Regions from separate parts of the Homo sapiens genome. Here region 2 is linked to region 1. The links are contacts of gene promoters, found by promoter capture Hi-C in human tissues and cell types (Jung and others, 2019). All regions are on one chromosome and are shown on one strand. The core of a region is centred on a gene start or on the middle of the fragment in contact, and the rest is flanking DNA. Distances in the headings are between cores, read along the strand shown. Region 1 holds the start of ABCG5 (ATP binding cassette subfamily G member 5). Region 2 overlaps DYNC2LI1 (dynein cytoplasmic 2 light intermediate chain 1).

Region 1 (4,974 bases), core at 790-3,289:
TTTGTAATGTTTAATTCCTTAAAAAAGAAAAAGAGTCTGGGAAACATAGCAAGAACGCTGTCTCTACAAAAAAAGATAAAAATAAAAATAAATTAGCCGGACATGGTGGTGTGCACCTGTAGTCCCAGCTGAGGTGGGAGGATCACTTGAGCTCAGGAGGTTAAGGATGCAGTGAGCCAAGATCGCACCACTGCACTCCAGCCTAAGTGACAGAGTGAGACTCTGTCTCAAAAAAGAAAAAAAAAGAAAAGAAAAACGACCAGATAAGATCTGATAAGGCCCGATGTTAATACATGAACTTTTAAATATTATTCTCCAGTCTTTTTTTTTTTTTTTTTGAGACAGGGTCTTGCTCTGTTGCCCAGGCTAGAGTGCAGTGGCACTATCTCAGCTCACTGAAGTCTTAATCTCCTGGGCTCAAGCAATCCTCCCACCTCAGCCTCCCAAGTAGCTGGGACCGCAGACATGCACCACCATGCCTGGCTAACTTTTGTATGTTTTTGTAGAGATGGGGTCCCACTATGTTGCTTAGGTTGCTCTCGAACTCCTGGGCTCAAGCAATCCTCTCACCTCAGCCTCTCAAGCTGCTGGGATTACAGTCATAAGCCACTGTGACCAGCCTATTCTCTATTCTTGATTGTATGTCCAAAATATACCATCATAAAAAAGCACCACTGGAATCAAAGATAGGGGCTTAATGGGCATTTTTGTGCTTATTTAATCCTTTTCCTGTCTCTAGGCAGTGTACAGATAGGGGAAATTGTGTTTCCTGAGTACTTTTATATGCCATGGAACTGTGGGGGCTTTTTATATTTTGAAATATGAATTCACGTACATGTTAGGCAGAATTTTATACTCTTTCAAGGATCTTTCTAAAGATTTCACATTGGTAGCAGTTCCATTCACAGTCAGATATCAATAGAATTCATTCTAATATCAAACCTGTGGCTTTCTTGTTACAACTTAATCTGTTTCTTCAATGTGGAGTTTAACTCAAGCCAAATCCTTTTTAGAATCCTCCTTCCCAAGCTTACCTGAGCTTCCTAGGATGCACATGATCTGCCCGCTCTCCACGTACAAGGAGACATCTTTGAGGATCTGCCTGGTCCACTGCTGCCGGCAAGATGTGATGTCCCACCAGGGCCTCACGCGGTGGCTTTAAAGGAAACCCCAGGAAGGCAAAGGCAGCTTGGGGCCCTGGAAGGGGCCACACCCAGGTCCCCAGCATTGATCCTACCTGTGCCCCACCCCAGTAGTCTCCGGACAGGCTCCTAACGTGTTTCAGTCTCTGCGCCCTCCTCTGTAGAACCTGGCAGATAGCGACTGAGGCTGTCTGCCACGTAGGGAGGGGGCCTGTGCTGGAGTTGCTCTGAATGTCCTGTCCGTTTGGCTGCGAGGTGGCTGTCCCTGCATTCTTTCACCAGGTTTCAAGACTCCTTGCATTCGCAGTACCCCCATTCCCATCCACAGAGGGCAGGCCGTAGACACTGGGTTGGCAGGGCACTGCTGCCACTTTGTTTATGCCCAGGCCCTTCCCTGGGCAGGGGGAGGGGCCATTCACTGTCGCTCCATGTTTCCCAGCACAGCCCTTCTCCCTCTCCTCTCTCCACCCGATCCACTAAAGAGGGAGCCCGAAGTGCCCAGACTGGCACTTAAAGAGTGAAGAAAGGCAGCAGAGGGGTGAGCGCCGGGCCCCGCACTCCTGGGGGAGCAGCAGCAGCAAGGGCTCTGCCTTACCTGACGCTGTAGGAGGCATGGAGGATGCCCAGGCTGTGAGGCTCCGGGGCGGTGGCAGGAGCCCCCTCCAGGGAGCTCTGGGAGCCTCTGTTTACTTGGAGACCCATGGACCCTCCGGGGGTCAAAGATGAGAGGTCACCCATGGCCAACAGGCAGCAAAGCTGGGCAAATTTTCTGGTGGCCGGACCCTCCCCAGAGTGGCTTCAGTTGGGGAGCCCGTGGCAGACTGCCCTGCCTGCTCCACCTGACCCCGGAGTCCCTTGGGACAGCAGGACTGGGACTTGGCCACGGAGACCATTATCTGATGTACCTTTAGCCAGCGCGTCCTTATCTTGACAGTGGGCAGAACACACACGTTTGTAGGTGGGCTTGCCAGCAAGGAATGCTGGGAGAGACGGGCCCAGGGCAGGAGGCCGAGGTGTCCCTGCTCCAGGAAACAGAGTGAAGACACTGGCCCTGGCAGGCAGCAGCTGGGTCTAAGAGAGCTGCAGCCCAGGGTCACAGACCTGTGGGCCCCATGGCCGGGAAGGCGGCAGAGGAGAGAGGGCTGCCGAAAGGGGCCACTCCCCAGGATACCTCGGTGAGTGAGCAATGGGAAGTCGGCCCAGGCCTGGTGGGCGGGTAGGAGAAATCAAACCTTTCTCTCTTCCCTCAGGAGCCTTCTGTCCTAGCACCACCCGGACATCAAGCAGTGTGAGGACATGGCCGCAGGACTGTTTCCTGCATGTCAAAGGGCGGAGGGGAACAGATTCAGGGTCCCAGAGGCCTCTGAGGTCACTTCCTGCCCTAAGAAATGCTCTTTTAGGGAAATGATGTTCTTTTGTGTGATGTGGGACAATTTCACTTTTTCTTTTTTCTTTTCTTCTCTTTTTTTTTTTTTTTTTTTTTTTTTTTTTTTTTTTTTTTTTGAGACGGAGTCTCGCTCTGTTGCCCAGGCTGGAGTGCAGTGGCGTGATCTCGGCTCACTGCAAGCTCTGCCTCCTAGGTTCAAGTGATTCTCCTGCCTCAGCCTCCCAAGTAGCTGAGATTACAGGCACCTGCCACCACACCTGGCAAATTTTGTATTTTTTAGTAGAGACAGTGTTTCACCATGTTGGTCAGGCTCAAACTCCTGACCTCAGGTTACCCACCCTCCTCGGCCTCCCAAAGTGCTGGGATTACAGGCATGAGCCACCGTGCCTGGCCAGTTTCGCTTTTTCCGAATGAGACTCCATCATAGAAATGTGCTCACACATGCCAGGGACTCCACTGGTGTCTCCTCCATCCATGTGGCTGTCAGGTTGGTCTCAGTAATGAAGTGATGGGTGAGACAGGGTGACAGACGGCTTTTGTGGGAACATCAGCATGTGTGGCTCTAACAGGCAATCGTAAGTTCTGCGAGAAAGCTGGAAGGAGTAGAAGCAGCCAGGTGGCAGGAGGTGGAGGTATGTTTCCTTCCTCATTTTACCTGAGAAGTGTTTACTCAAGAAATAGCCTTTGACTGAATTCGGGATGTGGCAGGATTTGAAGCAGGAGGCTAAACTGGAAGACAAGCGAGAAGCAGATCCCCACTCCCACCACCTCACCCCATCCTACCTTTCCATCTTTGCCTGTTGTGGGTAGGAGGGAGGAGAGAAAGACAAGCATGATCGAGGATTCCACACCCAATGGGGAAAACAACCTGGACTGGCCTTGAGTTTCCAGGACTTGACTCGGCCAGACCCAAGGAGCCCACCATTTCTAGTCAGTTCTGCAACCACCACATCTGACCAGCTCTGCTCTCTGAATACCCTGTGGGGCCCACCACTTCGGGAAATGTTTAAAGCCTGAATAGAATAGAAAGTCAGCGGGACTTTGGGAACACTTCCTGCCTGGGAGGGCTGACGATTCAGCCACCACAGCTTGAGAGGCAAAGAAATGCTAGGACCACACCAGAAATGCACGCAGGCCCTGCCATTTCTGCTTCCCTTCTGTCCGATCCTGTCACTCCAGGTGCTGAGTGACGGTCTGCCCGTAACACCTGTGGGTCTTGGAACAAGAGGATGAGGGTCACATTTCCTATGTCTAGATATATAAAAGTCATCAGTCAAGCTATAAGAACAGTTAAATAAAATAGTTTCTATCCTCTTATCTTGACATATCTTCCTCACAACCTGAAAGGCCATGTGTAAATTGAGAAATTCTAAGGCAACTTGGCTAGAATGCGCTGGTACGGGGGAGCCACTTCCAGCCCGAGCCACAACCTGTCCCCCTTTTCTGGCCCCCTCAGCTCCATCCCACTCCATGGGGCCCTCAACACCCTGGATGGTCACCCTCCTGCCTACCTGCATTGCAGCCCTGCCCTGCACAGACATATACTTCTCTGGCCTAAAAGTCCTCAGGAGGTTGGGCCTGGGAAGAGGTGTACAGACCCTGGGGATGGACTTGGGGCCATTTGCACAGAGAATATCTGGCATCTTGGGCACCTGGAGTGGCAAGTGCCCTTAACCCACAAACTCCTCATGCCATGGGCAGGAGCAGCAACAGAGAAGGACAAGAGAAACCCTGGCAGCAGGCAGAGCTGTGTGTGACCTAGGCTGAATGTTTCGATAAAATTTCTTCAGCCAGGAACAAGTCCTGCGTGTCCTCTTGCCAACCCTCCAGCCGTGAGTGTCAGCACATCACTCCCCCCGGGGCATAGGCTCCTCATCTCAGAACTAGAAACATGTGCTCTGTGAGTTTCCTTCTTGCCTAGGCATCTGACTCAGGAATTTGATCAGAAGTTAATACGAGGAGAAATTACAATGTAGCCCAGCATGAGCAGAGCTGGTTACCTACAAATAAACCTGCTTTTGCTTTTTTGGGTGTCACCTGTCAGAAATTCAAGTGATGTTCTGACAGTCGTACTGATTAAGATGTCAGCCGAATAGATACTTAAGTATTTGAAAAATACAGAGAGTTTGTCAAAACCTCAGGAAGAGTCTAACAAATCCTTCCTGGGAGCCAAGGAAAATATTTTAAAATGGAACAGAGGTCGTCCCCAACCCAGGCACGAATTTTCTTCCTCCGAAAGATGAGCTGCCTGTGCAACTCCTGGAAGGCACAATCCCTCAATGGTGGTTGGAGTCAGGGCTGGCCCACACCTGCCTTCCCAGGCCACAGTGAAGGGGCTTGGGGTGAGCCTTGGAACAAGCAACCAGGCACCTCTCCCCTTCCTCTTACCCAGTTTCTGCTCTGCCTCCTCTGTCTGCCAGCTCCCTCCCCTTCTCAAAGCACCAC
Region 2 (4,785 bases), core at 1,475-3,974, 36 kb before region 1:
GCAGAAGGCCTACAGTTCTTTGTGAAGGATGTTTTAGAAGTGATTGATGCAGCAGATGGAGGAGTTGGGTTAGAAAACATCTAATGTTCTCCCAGCCCTATCTTCTATGAAATATGTTTGTGATTAGGTTTTTCCTTTCTCATAAAGAAAATAAAATTAAACAGAGCAGTTATATTTCTAAAATTCAGTTAAAGTTTTCTGTATGTATTTTAAAACATGGTCTCAGTAGAAGCATTACAATTATTTCAATGCTTTCTTTAATAAATGTGTCAGATCTTACATATACATGAGTATTCTCATTTGAATACTTTCTCTGAGAGCATTAAGAACTTTCTGTTCTTAATCCAGAATGAGGCTTATCTTGTGGAATTACCATTGGAACCATAACGCTGATACCTTTGCTTCACAATTAGATTTCATTTCAGTTCAAAGTTGTTTTTCCCACTTCCATACCTCTTAGTCATTTTGACTTGGCTGTGAATGACTTTTGGTATCTACAGAAATCCAATCTAGCTTTTAAAGATCTGTAGGGTAACCATATGTCCTGGTATTCATCTGATGTCACAGCTTAATTATTAATAGTACCCAACCCCTTTCATTCTCTGAAATGTTCTGGTTCTGGTTTCCCTAGTTATATACCAGCACTGAAAATATTCAGTAGCTTAGGCACCAAAAGCAATTTAAAAAGAAGTTAAAAAATTACCTTAGTGAGTATCAGCATCATTAGACCAGTCTGCAGTCCCACAGTGACTCTTTGGAAGGCAGCAATACGCCCTTGGATGTGAAAGCTACTTTTGAGGTATACCTCTTATTTTCTAACCAACCCAACTGCATTTTGGAAAATTTTCTTTTAGACCATAATGAGTATGTTTACACACATACAGCCCATAAACATACATTCATATATATATATTTTAAAGAAATTATTTGACAGTGATTATGGTCCATTTGTGTGAGTAGCTGAAATGATGAGTACATAAACACAAGTCCTTTCCACATCATGTACTCATTAAGTTTGAAGAACGAGTTAAAGTTACCAAGATTTCTTTATTCAGGTTTTGTTTTGTCTACTCAAACAGAAGTATTTGCTGGGCAACAAAACAGTGATTCTCTTTGTAATCTGTATTTGTTCAAAGCCATATTTATTTTACCTGTTTCTGTGATTGGAAAATAGAGCATGTAATTTGTTCTCCTGATTTGTTTAAAGTTTACCAGTAAATCAGAAGCTCTATTACTAAAAATACGTGGAGTTATCAACCAGTTGGCATTTGGCATTGACAAAAGGTACTGCTAAGATATTTTTTATATCATTTATTGAGTGATTGATTTAGCCAATGTTGTCTCATCTGATTATTGTTCTACTCAGTCTCTTGTGTCTTGACCAGGAAAGTGACCCAGATGGCTTTTCTTAAAGGGATAATTTCTTTTTAAATTATTATTATTTTATTTATTTTATTATTTATTTTATTATTATTTTTAATTATTAATATTATTATTTATTTTGTCAAGACTCAACATAAAGGGGATAATTTCATATTATTTCCTGCTTCTTATATTCTTTAAATATTTCTTAAATTTTACAACCAAAATGTTACATAACATTTAGTTTGAGGCTGGAATAAAATAATGATAATATTATACTAGCTCCCTGATTTCTTTTACTTCCTTTCCCACACTTCAGTAGCTTCCCTCTACTATCACTTTCTTTTACTGATTTGAAATGGAATTGAAAATTTTGGTATGTATCTTCTTAGCCTTGCTACTTCTCTTGGTTTTGATTTAAGGTAATAGGGTCTGTCACTTTTTTTCCTATAAAATGTTTATTTATGCTATATGTTAATTTTTGAAATCACTTAAATTGATAGTCACTCATTCATTCGGGGCAATGCTCTCATTAGTGGCTAAATGTAAAACTAGCCGATAATATTGCTGTCATATTTACAGGAGAGCGTGGCAGCAAATCTAATTGCTAAACTAATTTAGAATCTTTCTCTTCTCCACGTAGCAAATCAATATGTGTGGATCAGAATAAACCGCTGTTTATCACAGCAGGATTGGATTCTTTCGGTCAAATAGGTTAGTGAACTTATTAAGATTGTTCAATCTTTTTTTAATTGCTTATTGATTTTGTCCTACTCCATGTTCACTTTGTCTCCAACATACTCCTATTTCTGGTTTCATTATCATTGCTGTTATTTCCTGTGTGTTTGTTTATATGCCCAGTATTAATGTAACATGCATCACATTGACATGTTTGTGATGGAAGTGATGTCACCACATAAGAGACTGATTTTTCATTTCTGATCTCTATTCCACTGAAAAACAAATTGCAAGTATTTTCTTTCCCCAACTGATTTCCAGGTACTTTTAAATTTTAGCTCCTTGGCTTTAAAGAAGCTAGGAGCATAGAGTAGTGAGGAAATTCAAAGCTACATATTACAGGCAATTAGCAAGTATATGAGAGACTGAAGTGGTAGAGTAAACCAAAAAGAACACAGTTGTAACAATTAGGTATGATTTGATTTTTTGTTATGAAATAGCATGCCTCATCTAATGGAATGTATTTCCTAAACTCATAGACTCTATAGGCTTCTGAATCAAAAGGAAGTTTAAGAGTTTATATCTCAAGGCCCTTACCTTCCCACAGAAACTGTTTTCATTGTGAAGATCTTTGAGCCTCGCACTTCTTTATCCTCTGCAGGTGGCGTAGTTTGCTTTTAAAACTCTAATGGGCAGTAGGGTTTTTTTTTTTTTTTTGTATTTCCCATCCTCTGTTAGTCTTACAAGCTAAAGGTGACTTGACTTCAAATATAGAAATCTTTGTAATGAGATTATAGATTAATTGGAATGAAAGGAATGGAGGTGATTTTGCTTAGTGAATGGTCATGGAGACTGATGTTTATGATTATAATTAGCACCAACTTAATTCCAGTAGCAGTGAGAATCACTGTTGTACTGATAGATAATGCTGATGGAATTCTTTTGCTTCTATGAATAGTTGGAGGCCAGAAGAGAGTTCATAATTGCTGAATTTAAAAATCATGGCGCCTAGATCTCATCGGAATTAAAAACTTTTGCTCTATGAAAGCCCATGTGAAGATGAATAGACGTGCCATAGTGTGGGAGAAAAGAATTTCAAACCACATATATGACAAAGGACTAGTGTTTAGAATATATAAACTCAACAGAAAAATAAATAATCCAATTAGAAAGTGGGCAAAAGACATAAGCAGACATTTCATTTCAGAGAGGACATAAACATAGCAAAGCAGCACATGAAAAGGTGTTTAATATCATTAGTTGTTAGGGAAATGCAAATTGAAACCACAATGAAATATCACTATACATTTAACAGGATAGCTAAAATAAAAAATAGTGACACCACCAAATACTGGCAAGGATGCAGAGAAACCAGATCTCTCATACATTGGTGGTGGGAGTGTAAAATGGTACAGCCACTCTAGAAAACAGTTTAACAGTTTCTTACGAAACTAAACATGCAACTACCATATGACCTAGAAATTGTGCTGTTGGGCATTTATCCAAGATAAATGAAAACTTAACTCTCACACAAAAAATCTCTAGGCATATGTTCATGGCAGCTTTATGTTTAGTAGTCAAAACCTAGAAACAGCCCAGAAGTTGTTCAGCAGGTGAGTGACTAAACAACTGTGGTACATCTGTACCAGGAAACACTACTCAGTCATACAAAGGAACAAATAATTGATACACACAGACTGGATGAATCTCCAGGGAATCATGCTGAGTGAAAAGCAGCCAATTAGAAAAGATTACATACAGTGTGATTCTATTTATAAAAAATTTTGAAATGAAAAACATTTTAGAAATGGAGGCAGATTAGTGGTGGTCAGAGGGCAGGGATAGAACTATGGATGGGGAGACCAGGGGAGGGGTCGGGAAGGAGGAGGTTATGTCTATAAAACGGCAACACAGGATCTTTGTGCTAGTGGAATTAAGTTGGTGTCTCGACTGTGGTAGCAAATACATGAACCTATGCAGGTGATAAAATTGTATAGAACTTAATATACACACAGACACACAAAGGAATACAAGTAAAACTTGGCAAAGCTGAATAACATCAGTGGAGCGTATCAATGGCTTTCGCACCAAAGTGGTAAGGATGTCCTGGAAGATCACCAGTAAAACAGTTTTGGGGAACAATACAGTTGTTGGAAATAGAAAGATGGGAAATATCCAGTTACAAATTGCAAATGGCAGCAAAGTTTTAAATTTTTCAAATTAAATTATACAAGTAACACATAAAGATATCTCCTTGTAAAAAGGTAAAAGAGTACATACAAGGAGCAAATTTGTGTTCTTTCCAATTTCCTATGCCTTTACACACATGTGTATATAGTGTAAAAAAACTATTTGCTTTAATGTAATTATGTGTTCAGTCTATATCATTTTGGAATTTCCCCTTTTTATTCAATATACCCTATTATTCAGTACCTTTTAATTCAATATACCAATATACCTTAGTAGTTTTTCCATATTAATGCTGTATGTGGGTCTATTTCTTATTTTAACTGTTGGATAGTGTTACAGAGCATGGCTATGCATAGTAATTAATGCACTGTTCACCACTGATGAATATTTTGGTTGTAGGTCAATTTTTCACTGATAACAAATTATACTGCAGTGTGAAATCCTTAATACAGTACCAGTTTGCAGGTGTTTCTAGGGCAAACACTACCAAAAACTGGAATTACTGGTTAATAGGATATAGATACAGGTATAGGTATAGGGTGTGGAGAATGAGAG

Evidence for each region. Contacts are between HindIII fragments. The study calls those that stand out against the background at their distance.
Region 2: a fragment that was not itself captured here is called in contact with the fragment with the promoter of ABCG5 in region 1 in 1 of the 25 tissues and cell types used here (liver).

The regions. Positions count from the first base shown.
Region 1 is chr2:43,836,800-43,841,773 of GRCh38, forward strand. It overlaps ABCG5 (ATP binding cassette subfamily G member 5), which reads right to left and starts at 2,040. Exons shown (of 13, transcript NM_022436.3): 1 at 1,738-2,040; 2 at 1,035-1,156. The coding sequence starts at 1,880. ABCG8 (ATP binding cassette subfamily G member 8) reads left to right here and starts at 2,172. Exons shown (of 13, transcript NM_022437.3): 1 at 2,172-2,317. The coding sequence starts at 2,255. The HindIII fragment of the contact is 5,779 bases long and covers 358-4,974 here.
Region 2 is chr2:43,799,634-43,804,418 of GRCh38, forward strand. DYNC2LI1 (dynein cytoplasmic 2 light intermediate chain 1) reads left to right here. Exons shown (of 13, transcript NM_016008.4): 9 at 1,208-1,284; 10 at 2,006-2,076. Among named protein-coding and RNA genes, the nearest start is that of DYNC2LI1, 28 kb to the left of the region's middle. The HindIII fragment of the contact is 9,891 bases long and covers 1-4,785 here.